3 separate regions of the Homo sapiens genome follow, and regions 1 and 2 are each linked to region 3. Evidence: promoter capture Hi-C in human tissues and cell types (Jung and others, 2019). All regions are on one chromosome and are shown on one strand. The core of a region is centred on a gene start or on the middle of the fragment in contact, and the rest is flanking DNA. Distances in the headings are between cores, read along the strand shown. Region 1 overlaps SHISA9 (shisa family member 9). Region 2 overlaps SHISA9 (shisa family member 9). Region 3 holds the start of SHISA9 (shisa family member 9).

Region 1 (4,712 bases), core at 1-2,500, 140 kb after region 3:
ATTAGAATGTAAACTTCAAGAGAGCAGGGATCTCATCTACTTTTCCCCCTTGCTCTATCACCAGTGTTTAGTGCAGTGCTTAATGCATACAATGCCCCAGTAGAATTTTGAAATTGAAAAATATTGAAGAGTCATTTGGTAAAGAAAAGCTTCTTTTCTTTCTTCCTATCCTGCTAAGGTCTGAGGGCCCTTAGGTGTAGATTTTTGGTGCAAGTGAATAATACACCTGGTTTGTAGAGAGTTCTAAGAAAACATTGTTTGTTTTAAGTTGCCCTGTTGAGCTTTGCAAGCCTTTTTCTAGGACCAGCCTGACTTTGGTGGCTCTCAGAATGGAGAGCAAGTGTGGGGTCCTGAGTCTCACCCAAGTGACCCCCAACCTGGAAACGTGTGCTTCTGCTTCAGAGGGTTCCTGCAGTAGACACAAAGCCCTTCATCCATTCATTCATTTAACAAGTACTGTGTCGTTGGGGGCTGAGCCTTTGCAGATCCTGGGCTAAGTACCAGGGGTGCAGCACTGAACAAAATGCATGAACCTTCGCCTCCCAACATCTCAGAGCTGGATGTGTTGTGTTCAAAATGGTATTTTATCAGAGCAGCTTAATGGTCCACAGAAGGAGTGCAGGCCCCCACAAATAAATTTTGTTTCCTCAATGTTTTCTCTCTGGGAAAATGGAGACTGCTTACTTGAACAACCTGATCTCTCTTTGTGCCTTGGGCTCTAGTTTTCATAATGGCTGACCCAGGCTTAGGACTCCTGCTGTTGTCTCTACCCTGGGCTTGGCCTATCCCTGACTGTCTGCTCTGCCATTCATCAGGGCTTTGTAACAGCCTGCTTCTTCCTCCAGTGCAAACCTTTGTCCTCTCTTTGGCTGTTCTATTCCCTGTTGGAGCCACGTATCCCCTGATATGGCTTCTGTAGACTGCTTTCTATTCCTACCAGCCACTCAAGTTGGACTTGCAAACAAGGGGCTATATGTAGCTACCCTCTGATTTATTTTGTGTTTTGAAATCCTGAGGAAGAGTTGATTTTAAGAAAGCATTCTGATCAAGTTTCAAAACCACTAATCTGATGAGCTGCATGCACAAATGAGCTCACCCTCCATTTAGCAAAATGCCAGAGCCGTGCCTGGGCCAGCAGTTCTCAAACTGTAGGGTACATGAGGCTCACTGGGGAAGGCTGATAAAATACCAATTCCAGGACCTCACTGCCATGGATTCCAATTTAGTAGGTCTCTGGTGGGACTCAGGAATCTGCAATTCTAATAAACTCCCTGGGGATTCTGATGTAGCTCCAGGGGTAATAAGAAGAATATTTAGCACATATGAGTACCATCGAATCATCAAAGTCTTGGGGCTCCCCCTCTCCCTCTTGCCTAATACCCGGCTTTGACTTTTTGGTTTCTGGATTGTGAGAGGCAAAGGGGATTTTGAGGAGGGATTGTAGCAGCTGGCTAATCAGGGGGATATTTAGTGTTCTCAGGGCAGTGGCAATTACCAACAACTATGGAGGCAGTTCTGTATTGTAATAACTGGGATTATTGCCAAGCTGTTCCCTGATCTGTTGGGTAGACAGTCTGCAAAACACAGTGGCCACAAGGACACTGGGAATCTTGCACTGGTCGCTACCTTTACCTCAGCCAGGAACTGTGTGTTCATGTTGATTAGCTTCCAGAAGGCACTCGTTACCTGCCCCTCAGTAAAAGACTGAAACCATGCTTGTGGCTTCTTTCTGCTCATTGACAGAATTTGTACCTTCAGGAGCTAGTGTGTAGGATTATTGGCCAATTTGCTTGGCTGCAATGAATGGAAAATGCAGTAGCATTGGATGGGACAAAATATAGCTGACCCAGGCTTCCCAAACAGAGACACTCTTTGTAAGTATTTTACCAGGCTCTCAACAAATGAATGCCTCAGTTGTTCTCATCAAAGTCTTCCCAAGCCAAGAACAGTTGGTTTCCTCTGAATTGAGTGTCTAATTTTTTAATAGAAGTGATCTCAAGAGTGCCCCCTTTGTGATGATTTTCTGGTCCTTTGGTGTCTAGAATGTTTGTGGGTACTAAAATGAAGTTTTGTATTTCAGATAAGAGTCTGAGGGAAATGATTGCCCTAATTAAGATATGTGCCCTTCCCCCTATTCTCTAGTCACACCATCTTTTTAAGTTTCCTTTTTAGCTCTATCACTGGCAAAAACTATCTTATTTGTTTACTTGTTTATTGTCGGTCTCCTCCCACTAAAGTTACATAAGAGCAGAAACCTTTTCCTTGGCTGCCACTGTATCACTAATGCCTAGAAGCATCCCTGGCACACGGTAGAGGCTCAAAGAATATTTATAGAATAAACTAATTCAAGGGGCATATTAGTTAAGGTAATGCTGGCTTCTAGAACAGATAAACCCTGGAGTTTCAGGGGCTTAATACTAAAGAAATGAATTTTGCATTCACATAAAGTTCAATTCGGGGTGCCTGGACAGCAGTTGGAGGGTAGAGGTAGACATGGGATGCTCTGCTCCATGCAGTCACTCAAGGACCCAGGATGATGGAGGAACTTCCAACTTTATCATGTGGCTTTCAACATTGACCTGAGTGTCAACATCTAACCAGTAAGTGGTGGGGGGAATGGTGAGGTCAGAGGAGTGGCATATCCCGTGGGAGGTCTCAACAGGCCTGTCCCGGAAGTGGATATATCAGTTCCATCCATATTCTGCTGGGCAGAACTCAGTCATATGGCCACACCTAACTGCAAGGGAGTCTGGGAAATATTGTCTAGCTGAACACCCAGGAGGAAAGAGAAACGGGCTTAGTAAACAGCTAGCTACTTCCCACCACGGGAGGGTATTTGTGGTTTCTCTATGATTCCTGAATTGGATTTTTAAATTCTCCTGTTTCTATCAGGTTGGTGCAAAAGTAATTGCAGTTTTTGCCATGACATTTAATGCAAAACACGTTATATTAATTGCAAAAACCACAATTACTTTTGCACTAACCTAATATGAAGACCCAAAGTTGTCATCTCTACTCCTGCGGTGGGAACTCCTTAACCTCCCACAGCTTGAACTCACTGTCCTGATATCCTCAGAGCTGCATCCCTCCTTGATCTGATGCTCAGTAGTCCAGAGCCATGCACTTTACACTTCAGGTCTTCTGCTGTTCTCTTTGCCTAGAATGCCTTAATAGCTTAGATTTATTGACATTTTACTGACTGATCCTTCAGAGCTCAGCCTGAAATTCCTCTCTCCTGGATATCCCCTGCCATCTCTCCCAGTGGATCTATTCGTTGTCCTTCTGGGGTCCTGTAACCATGGCTCACTTCTCTGCTTCACTTTATTATGCTTCTCCTTGTCCTTACTTGATTATCTATATTGCTTCATCCTAGGCTGGAATAATATTTTATTTCTCTTTGTATCACTTTCCAGAACTTAGCCTGGCCAAAGAAACTTAGCCTGTTTGTGGTCCCCCAGTTAGAAAAGAAGCCTCTGGCTAGAGTTTGAAACTGGCTTATGGGATTTTGAAGACTCAACCTGTGGTCTGTTTCATGAGGTCAAATCTGAAAATCCTCTAGGGAAGGGGTCCTAAAGGAGGTCTAATTGGGTTCCCCCATTTCAGACACGCAAATGTAGAATCCACGTGGCACTTACAGATATCAGGTTGGTGCAAAAATAATTTTCCCAATACATGAATGGCAAAAACTGTGATTACTTTTGCACCAAATTCCTCTGTGGTAGGAAGGACTTGGATTTAGAAAGACATCAGTTTGGGTTCCAGCCCCGCCACTTACTTGTTCTCTGACCTTGGGCAAGTTATTGAACCTTTCTGAACCTCGGTTTCTCATCCATAAAATGATTGTTTTTACAAGACAAATGTTTTATTGAGTGCCTAATAAGTGTTGGCCATAGGGGAGTGAATGAAATGGACATAGATCTTACAGATTAGTGGGCACAGATCCAATGGCTTTATAAATTAGGTCTGTGGTTACCATGCAAAAAGAATCTTCAACAGAAGGTTTGTTTGAGGAAGCACCGTGGGGCTCAGACCTGATGGTTAGTAAGGACAGATGAGGAGGTTGCAGAAGGATCCAGGCAGAGGCTATAGAATGTATGAAGGCTCCGAGGTGAGAGGGCATCTGGCTGCGTTGCTCAGGGGATTAAACGGACGGCTGCAGTTTTTCATTGTGTGACGAATGCCACACTGGTAGTTCTGAAGATGAATCTTGGATGGTAGCTAAGTGATCACTTAAAGCCCTTTTATATAGTCTTCTCTCTACTCTTTGCATGTTTAAAATCTCCCATCATAAAAAGTCAAATAAAAACTATAATTTATGTGGATGCTTATATTTGCTATTTGAAAAGTGATGTGCACATTCCAGGGCGCAGCTTGGTGCAGATGTTAACCACATGGATTCTGGAGCCTGCTGCTCTACCACTTCTCAGCTCTGTGGCTTCATGCCCGTGATGTGTGCCTCAGTTTCCTGATCTGTAAGATGGGGACGATAACAGCATTTACCTCATAGTGTAGTTATAGAGATTCAACATGCTTGTTATTATGGATGGGAATAATTTAAAGTTTAAGAAATGTATTTAGGCTTAAAGTATGAGTCAATATAGAAATGTTAAGCTAATAATGGCCAAACTTCATCTGGATACTTACTAAGTGCTGTTCTAAGTAGCTCACACATATTATTTCATTGAATGCCTACTATGAGGTAGATGGTATTA
Region 2 (4,218 bases), core at 836-3,335, 160 kb after region 3:
GCAGGTGCTTGGGAAATATTGGCTGAATTAATATATAGGATATAGGGGCCATGCGCTTAAATGGGCTCAACTCTGAACACTTTATCCCAGGGCAGCAGGAGAACAGAGGAAGCATGCATGCATGACACAGCACTAAATGACAGAAGTGTGCTGGGGGTGTATACTTGAATCAAAGAGGCATTGGTAGAAGAAGAGCTACATTTTACAGGGTGGAGGCAAACTATGGTTTGTCTAGGGAAAAGTCAAATTATGCAATAGAGGCCTGAAGGCAAGGAGATAAAGTCCTGCTCCTCAAATCCACTTCCCTGGGTCAATGAGATCTGTGTTGATCCATCTCTTTATGTTGGAATCACCTACAGACATCAGGTCAGACATGTAGACCAGTGTTAGGTATGGGGAGGGACACATACACTGAAGGGAAGACTAGAATAATATCAGTTATGGGTTGGAAGGATTTATTGGGTAATAAATAGCATGACTCTGGGCCAGATTGTCTGAGTTCAGACTCAGGGCCTGCTCCTTAGGAGCTGTGTGGTCTTAGCTAAGTCACCTCACCTGTCTGTACCTCAGTTTCCTTTCCCATAAAACTTGCCTTCCGCTTCACAGTGTTGTGGTCAGGGTTCAGTGAGTCAATGTATGCAGAGTGCTTAAAAGGACTGCCAAACACAGCAGTCAGTGAGTGCTACATAGGCATTAGCTTATTAGGGTGGGAAAAGGGTACTTGAATTCATGCCACGAAGCGTTCATTCTCAGGATTGGTTAACACCTCGCTGTTAGCAGGAGGAAGTGAGAGAAAGTAGACACAGCGGGGCTTAGGGAGATAGTGAATCTGGCAGGTGTGTAGGTTTGGATTGAACACAGGCTCTGTGGTATGTTAGCTGTGAGGCTAGCAAAGGGGAGTATGGGGCGCCCCCGATCCAGAAAGCATATTGCAAAAGGAAAATACAAACTGGAAGCTAAAGGAATGGGCCTCGGTGCTATAGGCCCGCTAGCAGAGGGGGCTGCTGAGCATGTAATGCCCTTCCTGCCTGGGGCTGGAGGGTTGTACCCAGGTGAGGCTCAGAGGGCCAGTCCTCCAGCTGTGGCAGCCTCCAGGGAGCCGAACAATAGAACGTTCATGGATTTGAGCTAGGCTTGCCTTTCACAAGACAGCCCTGGATGGATGGGATGGGACTCTCATTTATGGAAGGCAGGTGCTCTGTTCCTCCTTAGGATCCAACAAGCTTAGAAGGGAATGTTTTCAAAGTAGGGAGTGTCGGATTCACCGTATCCTAATTGCCTGGGGGGTTTATTTATTTATTTATTGACAGAGTTTTGCTCTTATAGTCCAGGCTGGAGTGCAATGGGGCGATCTTGGCTCACTGCAATCTCCAGGGAGGTTTATTAAAATGTAGATTCTTGGGCTTCACCATAGATCCATCAAATCAGATTTTGGGGAGTAAGAGCCCAGGACTCAGCATTTTAAATACACTCCCGAAGGGATCTGATGCATACCATAGTTTGAGAACTGCTTGCTCTAAATAAGTGATACTTTTTTATTTTTAATTTAATTTTATTTAAGTTCTGCGATACATGTGCAGAATGTGCAGGTTTGTTACATAGGTAAACGTGTGCCATGGTGGTTTGCTGCACCTATCAACCCATTACCTAGGTATGAAGCCCTGCATGCCTTAACTTTTTATCCTGATGCTCTCTCCTCCCTACCACCACAGGCCCCATTGTGTGATATTCCCCTCCCTGTGTCCATGTGTTCTCATTGTTCAGCTCCCACTTATGAATGAGAACATCCAGTGTTTAGTTGTCTGTTCCTGTGTTAGTTTGCTGAGGATAATGGCTTCAAGCTCCATCCATGCTCCTGCAAAGGACATGATCTCGTTCCTTTTTATGGCTGTATAATATTCCATGGTGAATATGTTAAATAAGTGATTCTTAATCAACAGTGCACCTCAGAAATGGATGGAGAGCAGTTTCCACATACAAGCATGCCAATCTTGCTCCCTAGAGATTCTGATGCAATAGGGCTGGGGTGGGACAAAGCCCAGGCATATGAACTTTTTTTTAAAAAGATGCTTTTCCAGTGATTGAGTGAATAACAATTTGGCTTGCTTATTGCCTGGTCATACAATACCTGAGAGCTTGTTAAAAATGCAGGTTCCCAGGACTAGTTCTAGAGTTACAGAATGTGCCTCTATGGGGAAGGGGTGATTCTTAGCATTGGCTGAAATTGGGACCCAGGGTACCTACTGCTCTGTGCCCTCTTATTACTCAGGGCCTCCCTGGTGATTATAACAAGGGGGACTCATGTTGACAAGTAACTGCTACGGCCATCCCTGAGCCATGAGGCTCTTTACACTACTTCCTTCATTTACTCCCACAACTACCATGACTTACCATTATTCCTATTTTCCAGATGAGCAAAGTGAGGCCTAGGGAGGAAAGGAAGACAGCAGTGATGCTGAGAAGGGGTGGAGCTCAGAATAAAATCCTAGAGCCACAAAAGTTCTCTTCTAGTCTTCCACTCCAAGCCCAATGTAAGGGAAAAGTGTCATCTTTCGAGGAGAGGTAGTTGAAAGCTTTTGTACAGGTTCAGGGCTGCCATCCCCCATGATGGCTACATGTCATTGACCAGTGGTGTGGTGTATTTGTGTGTGTGTGTGTGTGTGTGTGTGTGTGTGAATGTGTATGTGTGGTGGGAGATGTCTCCCATAGCTAGGGATCCAGGCAGGACCAGCACACATAATACCGTTGCTCACTAACTAACCAATAGCTCAGCAAGGGGAAGTACATAATTCTAGACCATTTGGCCAAGACACGTGATGAGTGTGGGTTTGGGGGGTGGACATTTGGGAAGGTGTTTCCATATGCATTTTCTGTATTAACCAGTAAGACATTCTTAGAATAATTAGGAATTGAATGGTGTGTTCCCCCAACTCCTATGTTAAAGCCTTGGCCCCCAGTACCTCTGAATGTGATATTATTTGATATTATTCTTTGCCTCTGTAAAAACTCTATCTTTTTTTTTTTTTTTTTTTTTTTTGAGACAGAGTCTCACTCTGTCGCCCAGGCTGGAGTGCAGTGGCGTGATCTCGGCTCATTGCAAGCTCCCCCTCCCGGGTTCATGCCATTCTCTTGCCTCAGCCTCCCGAGTAGCTGGGAGTACAGGTGGCCGCCACCATGCCTGGCTAATTTTTTGTATTTTTAGTAGAGACGGAGTTTCACTGTGTTAGCCAGGATGGTCTCAATCTCCTGACCTCGTGATCTGCCCACCTCGGCCTCCCAAAGTGCTGGGATTACAGGCGTGAGCCACCGCACCTGGCCTATCAGATAGACTATTTACAGAGGTACAGAGTCTATCTGTAAACATGTGGACATGTGGGTGGGGGACATCACATACTGGGGCCTGTCAGAAGGTTCAGGTGGGGAGGGAGAGCATCAGGATAAACAGCAAATACATGCGGGGGGTCTTCATACCTAGGTGATGGGTTGATAGGTACAGCAAACCACCATGGCACACGTTTACCTATGTAACAAACCTGCACATCCTGCACATGTAAACTTGAACTTAAAATAAAAAGAAGAGTCTATCTGCAAATAATATCACATTCCGATATTATTATATAACCACATTCTGACCTCAAGTTAGAATGAGGTCGTTAGGGTAAGCCCCAATCCAGTATGACTGATGTTCTTACAAAAGGGGAGGTTTGGACAAAGGAAAGGTGATGTGAAGAGACACAGGGAGAAGGCAGCCATTGACAAGCCCAGGAGAGAGGCCTCCAAAGGGACCCACCCTGCCCACACCTTGATCTTAGACTTTCCGACTCCAGAACCGTGAGACAATAGATTTCTGTCATTTAAGCCATCCTGTCTGTGGTTCTTTATCTTAACAGCCCTAGCAAACAAATACAGGCAGTAATTCTGATTATTACCCCCATTTGACAGGCGAGGTAACCAGTATTCAGAGAGATCATGACCTTCACCCAGAGTCACATGACAGTTAAGTGCAGGTGGCTCCACTAAATCCCAGACGGGCCTGGCTCCAAGGTGCCGGTTTCCTCTGTTCTCTCAATGCGCCCCGATGTGCCACATTATTGAAGCTGGAGGGACAGCGTTCCTGGGAAAACCATTTAGATTTCATTCTCCTTCCTTTCTCTGACAGAAGCTGCTGGTGAGGAAGGTAATGATCTTGATCAAACCATCCCCAGAATGCATGCCTGC
Region 3 (4,398 bases), core at 1,489-3,988:
TTCTGAAATGGACTTTTCTGTCCAGATTTTGTCTCTTTTCTCTGAAGTATTTTTTTAATCAAATTTACAAGTACCTTAAAACTCCCAACCCTTGCAGAAAGAACCCTGTGACCTACTGTTCTCCCATGTCCCTGGTTAAACTCTGCCCTAATACCTGCTGAAGTGGAGTCGGACACAGAGTGGAGGAAGAGGCCGGGGTTAGGAGTTGGGCGTCTAAATCCAGCCCTGGTGGGGTCATTGCTGTCCATGTGATCTCCCACAAAGGTCTTAACCTCTGAGCCACAGCTTCCTGGAACATAGGAAGCCCGCTGGAGGGTCCCTTTCCATTTCCAATGTAGTATATAGAAAACTCCCACCCTTTATATACATAATGACAGCAGATACTCCATCATCCATGCCCTAAGTGTTCCTTTCCTCTTTTGGTTTAAGACAGAGTCTTGCATAAATTAATTAATACAACCCATGCATTTTTTTGAGTGTTTACCATGCTTAGAACTGTACCCCGGGGCTGCACCCTGCAGCCCCGCACAACCCCAAAGGCTCAAATCCCTGGAGTTGCGCACAGGGCTGGAGGGCGCAGCCATGGACCCGCAAGGCAGCTCCGTATGCCTGGGTTCTAGGGGCTGGGGACATGGTATGGGAGTCGAGGCCCTCTCCATTACACAGTTCACATCTCAGTGCAGGCAAACAGACGAAAACGCAAATACATAATATAGTAGGAGGTAGACAGAAAGTTTGGAGGCCTATTTCATGTAGTGGCTGGAGGGCAGTTTCTGGACTCAAATTTCTTGGGTCAAATGTCAATTCTGGCACTCATTTGGCAGAGCTACTTGGGCAACTGGTTTAACTGCTTTGGGGCTCATTCTCTCCCTCTGTTGTGTGGGCCTGGTACTATTACCTAAGGGAGAGAGAGTTACATGAAACCAGTCACTCGGTGGTTCAGCAAATATTTCCAGACTGTCTGCTATACGCTGGGCACTGCTCTAAGCTTTCTTGAGGAGCTGCTTTTAGAAAAAGCAAGCTTAGTGAGTATGTTGCAGGCACTGAATAAATGTCAGCTCTCATTAGCTCTCACACACCAGTGCTTGTGTTTGTAGGACTCACAAGGTGGTGGTGGGCGTGGGTTGCCAGTCATGACAGACTTTCCATACTCTCCTATTTTGGGGATTCTATTATAATGAATCTGGTGAATCTGGATTAAACGTGTTCATACCTTCCCCAGATGGGTTTGGAATATAATACTCCTGGGTATGCCCTGTCAATGTCTTGCTGTGTGTTTGCAAATCTTTTTTGAAACATCAAAATGTGACTTTTTTTTTCAAAGAGAAGGGGCGATTAGCCAAACTTCTCATTTGGAGAAAACTTGCAACAGAGTCCCAATAAATCCTCCCACCCTTTCTCAATTCAGGGGACCCTAGTAAACCATTTTACATGTCGCCCAACTTTTCGTTCTCTGAAGATGCCCTGAGAAGCCCTTGACTGCAGCCAAGTGGAGAGGAGGGTTGTGGAAACATTATCTCCTTGCAAATCGCCTAGCAGCCTGCAAAGTGTATACTTAGTTAATGCAATTAAAAAACAAAACGCCGGGGCGTGGGGAGATCTAAATTTGGTGTAGCAGCTTTGGTGCAAATCCTGTTTTGGGGCTACTGGAGTCAAATTCAAGCAGAGGAGAGAAAGAGGTGGGAGAAATGAGAGAGGGCCTCCGGGGAGCTGGAATTCGCTAGGAGAGAGAGGGCAGATTTGGAAACACAGAGGAGACGGGAGGCTGGAAGCTGAGGAAGCAAGGCAGAGCTCTGCAGCCCCCGGTGAGGATTTCCGGGGGGATCCGTGGGGACAGGGGCCAGCCAGCTCCAGAGACCGATGCGCGGGCTCCAGGTCCGGGAGGGTGGCTGAGGCTGGGTGCCCAGGCCTTGCGCTGCGCCAGATCCGGGAGCGCAGAGGCGGCGCCGCGGTGTTCCCTCCTGTGGAGCGCAGAAAACGCTGCGGGGGCGAAGAGGGACAGAAAGCGGCAGGTTCGAGAGGCTGGGGGACTTCCAAGGAAAGACCTTCCAGGACACGCCATAGCCTCGGCCTTGTTCGGCTGTCCCCTCTTACCCCCGACCTTCTTTGATTCGTTCATCCCGAGCCCCTCTCCCCCGGAGGGTGCTTATCCCTGGCTCAGGGGCTTGCCACCTGTCCTTCCCAGCTCCGCCTGGGTCCTTGCTTGGGCCCAGAGAGTTGAGCCATGCGGGTTGCGCTCAGGGCTGGAGGGCGCAGCCGGGAAGGGCAAGGAGGCCCCGCACGCCTGGGAGGGGCGATCCTGACCAGACTGCACCCAGTCTGTCTTGGAGTGAAAGCCATTTAGTCTGTCCCCATCCTCTCCGAGTCATCCTTCCCCTGATGCACAGATTTCGGCCGCCGCTCCTGCACACGCACCGGTGAAAAAGCTACGAGCTGAGCCGCCTCTGCGCTCTGGACAGGGCTGAGCCGCGCCTCCTACCCAGAGAGGGCGCGGGAGGTCCTGCCGCGGTTTTCCACCTGCCTGGAAATCCGAGCGGCTCCTCTAGCCTCGGCTGCTGCCGAGCTCGCTCCTCCCCGTCCGCTCGCCTGGCTCAGCTCTGCACGCCCCCCAGCTAGCTCCCGCTCTAGTCACCTCTTCCCCGCGCCCCCGCCCCTCTAGAGCTCGCGCCCGCCCCCCCCCACCCGCGCCTCCTCTGCCCGCCCTCCTCCCCCTCCCCCTTCCCTCCTGCCCTCCCTTCATTCCACAAGTGTCGCTTCGCTCTCTTCAGCGCACTTGGCGAGCTGGTGAGGTGAGAGGGATACTGCGAGAGGGCTAGGGGCGGCCAGTCCGGGGCTGCCGGCCAAGGCTAGGCGCTGCCAGCCCGATTCTCCTCTGCTCTCCACCCCCGCCTCACCCAGTGGCCGGCCGGACCTGCACCCCGCGCTTGACCCCGCTCATCCTCCCCCCGCCCGGCCGGGCGCGCTCCTCCCCGGCCGGCCCCTCGGCGCGCGGCGCGCTGGAGGCGAACGCGGGCTGAGGCGAACGCGGGCTGAGCCGAGCGCAGTGGCCGCCGACCACCGAGCGCCCCGCGCCGCTCCCTGCATGTGCGGCCCGCGGCGGCTCGCAGCTCCCGGCAGCAGCCTCGGCAGCTTCGGCCGCGCCTCGAGAGGCGGCCGCAGAGGCTCCAGCGGCGGCCGAGCGGCCGAGCCCGGGCTGGGAGACACCATGCGCCGCGTCCTTCGGCTGCTCCTCGGTTGCTTCCTCACCGAGCTGTGCGCCCGCGTGTGCCGGGCGCAGGAGCGAGCGGGACACGGGCAGCTGGCGCAACTGGGCGGCGTGTTGCTGCTGGCGGGGGGCAACCGCTCCGGGGCCGCCTCCGGAGAGGCCAGCGAGGGCGCTGAGGCATCGGACGCGCCCCCGACCCGGGCGCCCACGCCGGACTTCTGCCGGGGCTACTTCGATGTCATGGGCCAGTGGGACCCGCCGTTCAACTGCAGCTCGGGCGACTTCATCTTCTGCTGCGGGACTTGTGGCTTCCGGTTCTGCTGCACGTTTAAGAAGCGGCGACTGAACCAAAGCACCTGCACCAACTACGACACGCCGCTCTGGCTCAACACCGGCAAGCCCCCCGCCCGCAAGGACGACCCCTTGCACGACCCCACCAAGGACAAGACCAACCTGATCGTCTACATCATCTGCGGGGTGGTGGCCGTCATGGTGCTCGTGGGCATCTTCACCAAGCTGGGGCTGGAGAAAGCGCACCGGCCCCAAAGGGAGCACATGTCCAGGTGGGCTGCCTCCCCTTCGCCCTCCCCTCGGGGCTTCGCTCTCCCTGCTCTCTCCTCCCCACCTTCCCCCAGGCAATGGCGCTCCCCACGGTCCCCGCTCCCCGCATCCCAGCCTCTCCGCTGGGGGATGTCACCGGGAAGCCAACTTCGGCTTGGAACACGGAGAAGGGGCGCTGGGCTCAGCACAGGTGTGGGTCTGAGCGTGTTCGTGTGTGTGTGAGCGTGTGTGTGTGTGTGTGTGACTCTGCTCCCTCACCCTCTGGCCGCCTCCTCCCGCTGGTGACTGAGGCGGACTTGAGACACGTAGCCTGGGAGCCCGTGGCCCCGAAATCTTCGGGTTTGGGGAGAGGGTCCATGGCACCCCTCGGATTCCAGGTGCTAGCTTTTTGGTAAACAGGGGCAGGCGAGCCCGAAAGGGGAGGGGGGCGTGTGTGAGCCCGAGCGCGCGTGTGTGAAGGAGGGAGGGTCAGAGTGAGTGCCGCCTGCAACTCGTACGACTCGCGAAAAGGAGACGAGGGAGGTGGAGTGAGGGGAGGGCGAGAACAAAAGCCTTGCTTGGAGCGGCCGCCTCGCTTTCCCAGAGCTTCGCCGTCCCTGGATTTGGGACCTCAGCTGCCCCCGCCCCTTTAC

The links. The method cuts DNA at HindIII sites, captures the fragments that hold promoters and counts their contacts. A contact is called where the count stands out against the background at its distance.
Region 1: a contact is called between a fragment that was not itself captured here and the fragment with the promoter of SHISA9 in region 3, in 3 of the 25 tissues and cell types used here (H1 embryonic stem cells, dorsolateral prefrontal cortex and mesendoderm cells).
Region 2: a contact is called between a fragment that was not itself captured here and the fragment with the promoter of SHISA9 in region 3, in 5 of the 25 tissues and cell types used here (adrenal gland, dorsolateral prefrontal cortex, mesendoderm cells and 2 more).

What each region holds. Positions count from the first base shown.
Region 1 is chr16:13,040,587-13,045,298 of GRCh38, forward strand. All of the region lies in intron 2 of SHISA9 (shisa family member 9), which reads left to right. Among named protein-coding and RNA genes, the nearest start is that of SHISA9, 140 kb to the left of the region's middle. The HindIII fragment of the contact is 5,855 bases long and covers 1-4,178 here.
Region 2 is chr16:13,056,109-13,060,326 of GRCh38, forward strand. All of the region lies in intron 2 of SHISA9 (shisa family member 9), which reads left to right. Among named protein-coding and RNA genes, the nearest start is that of SHISA9, 160 kb to the left of the region's middle. The HindIII fragment of the contact is 3,069 bases long and covers 552-3,620 here.
Region 3 is chr16:12,898,860-12,903,257 of GRCh38, forward strand. SHISA9 (shisa family member 9) reads left to right here and starts at 2,739. Exons shown (of 5, transcript NM_001145204.3): 1 at 2,739-3,768. The coding sequence starts at 3,206. The HindIII fragment of the contact is 6,671 bases long and covers 1-4,398 here.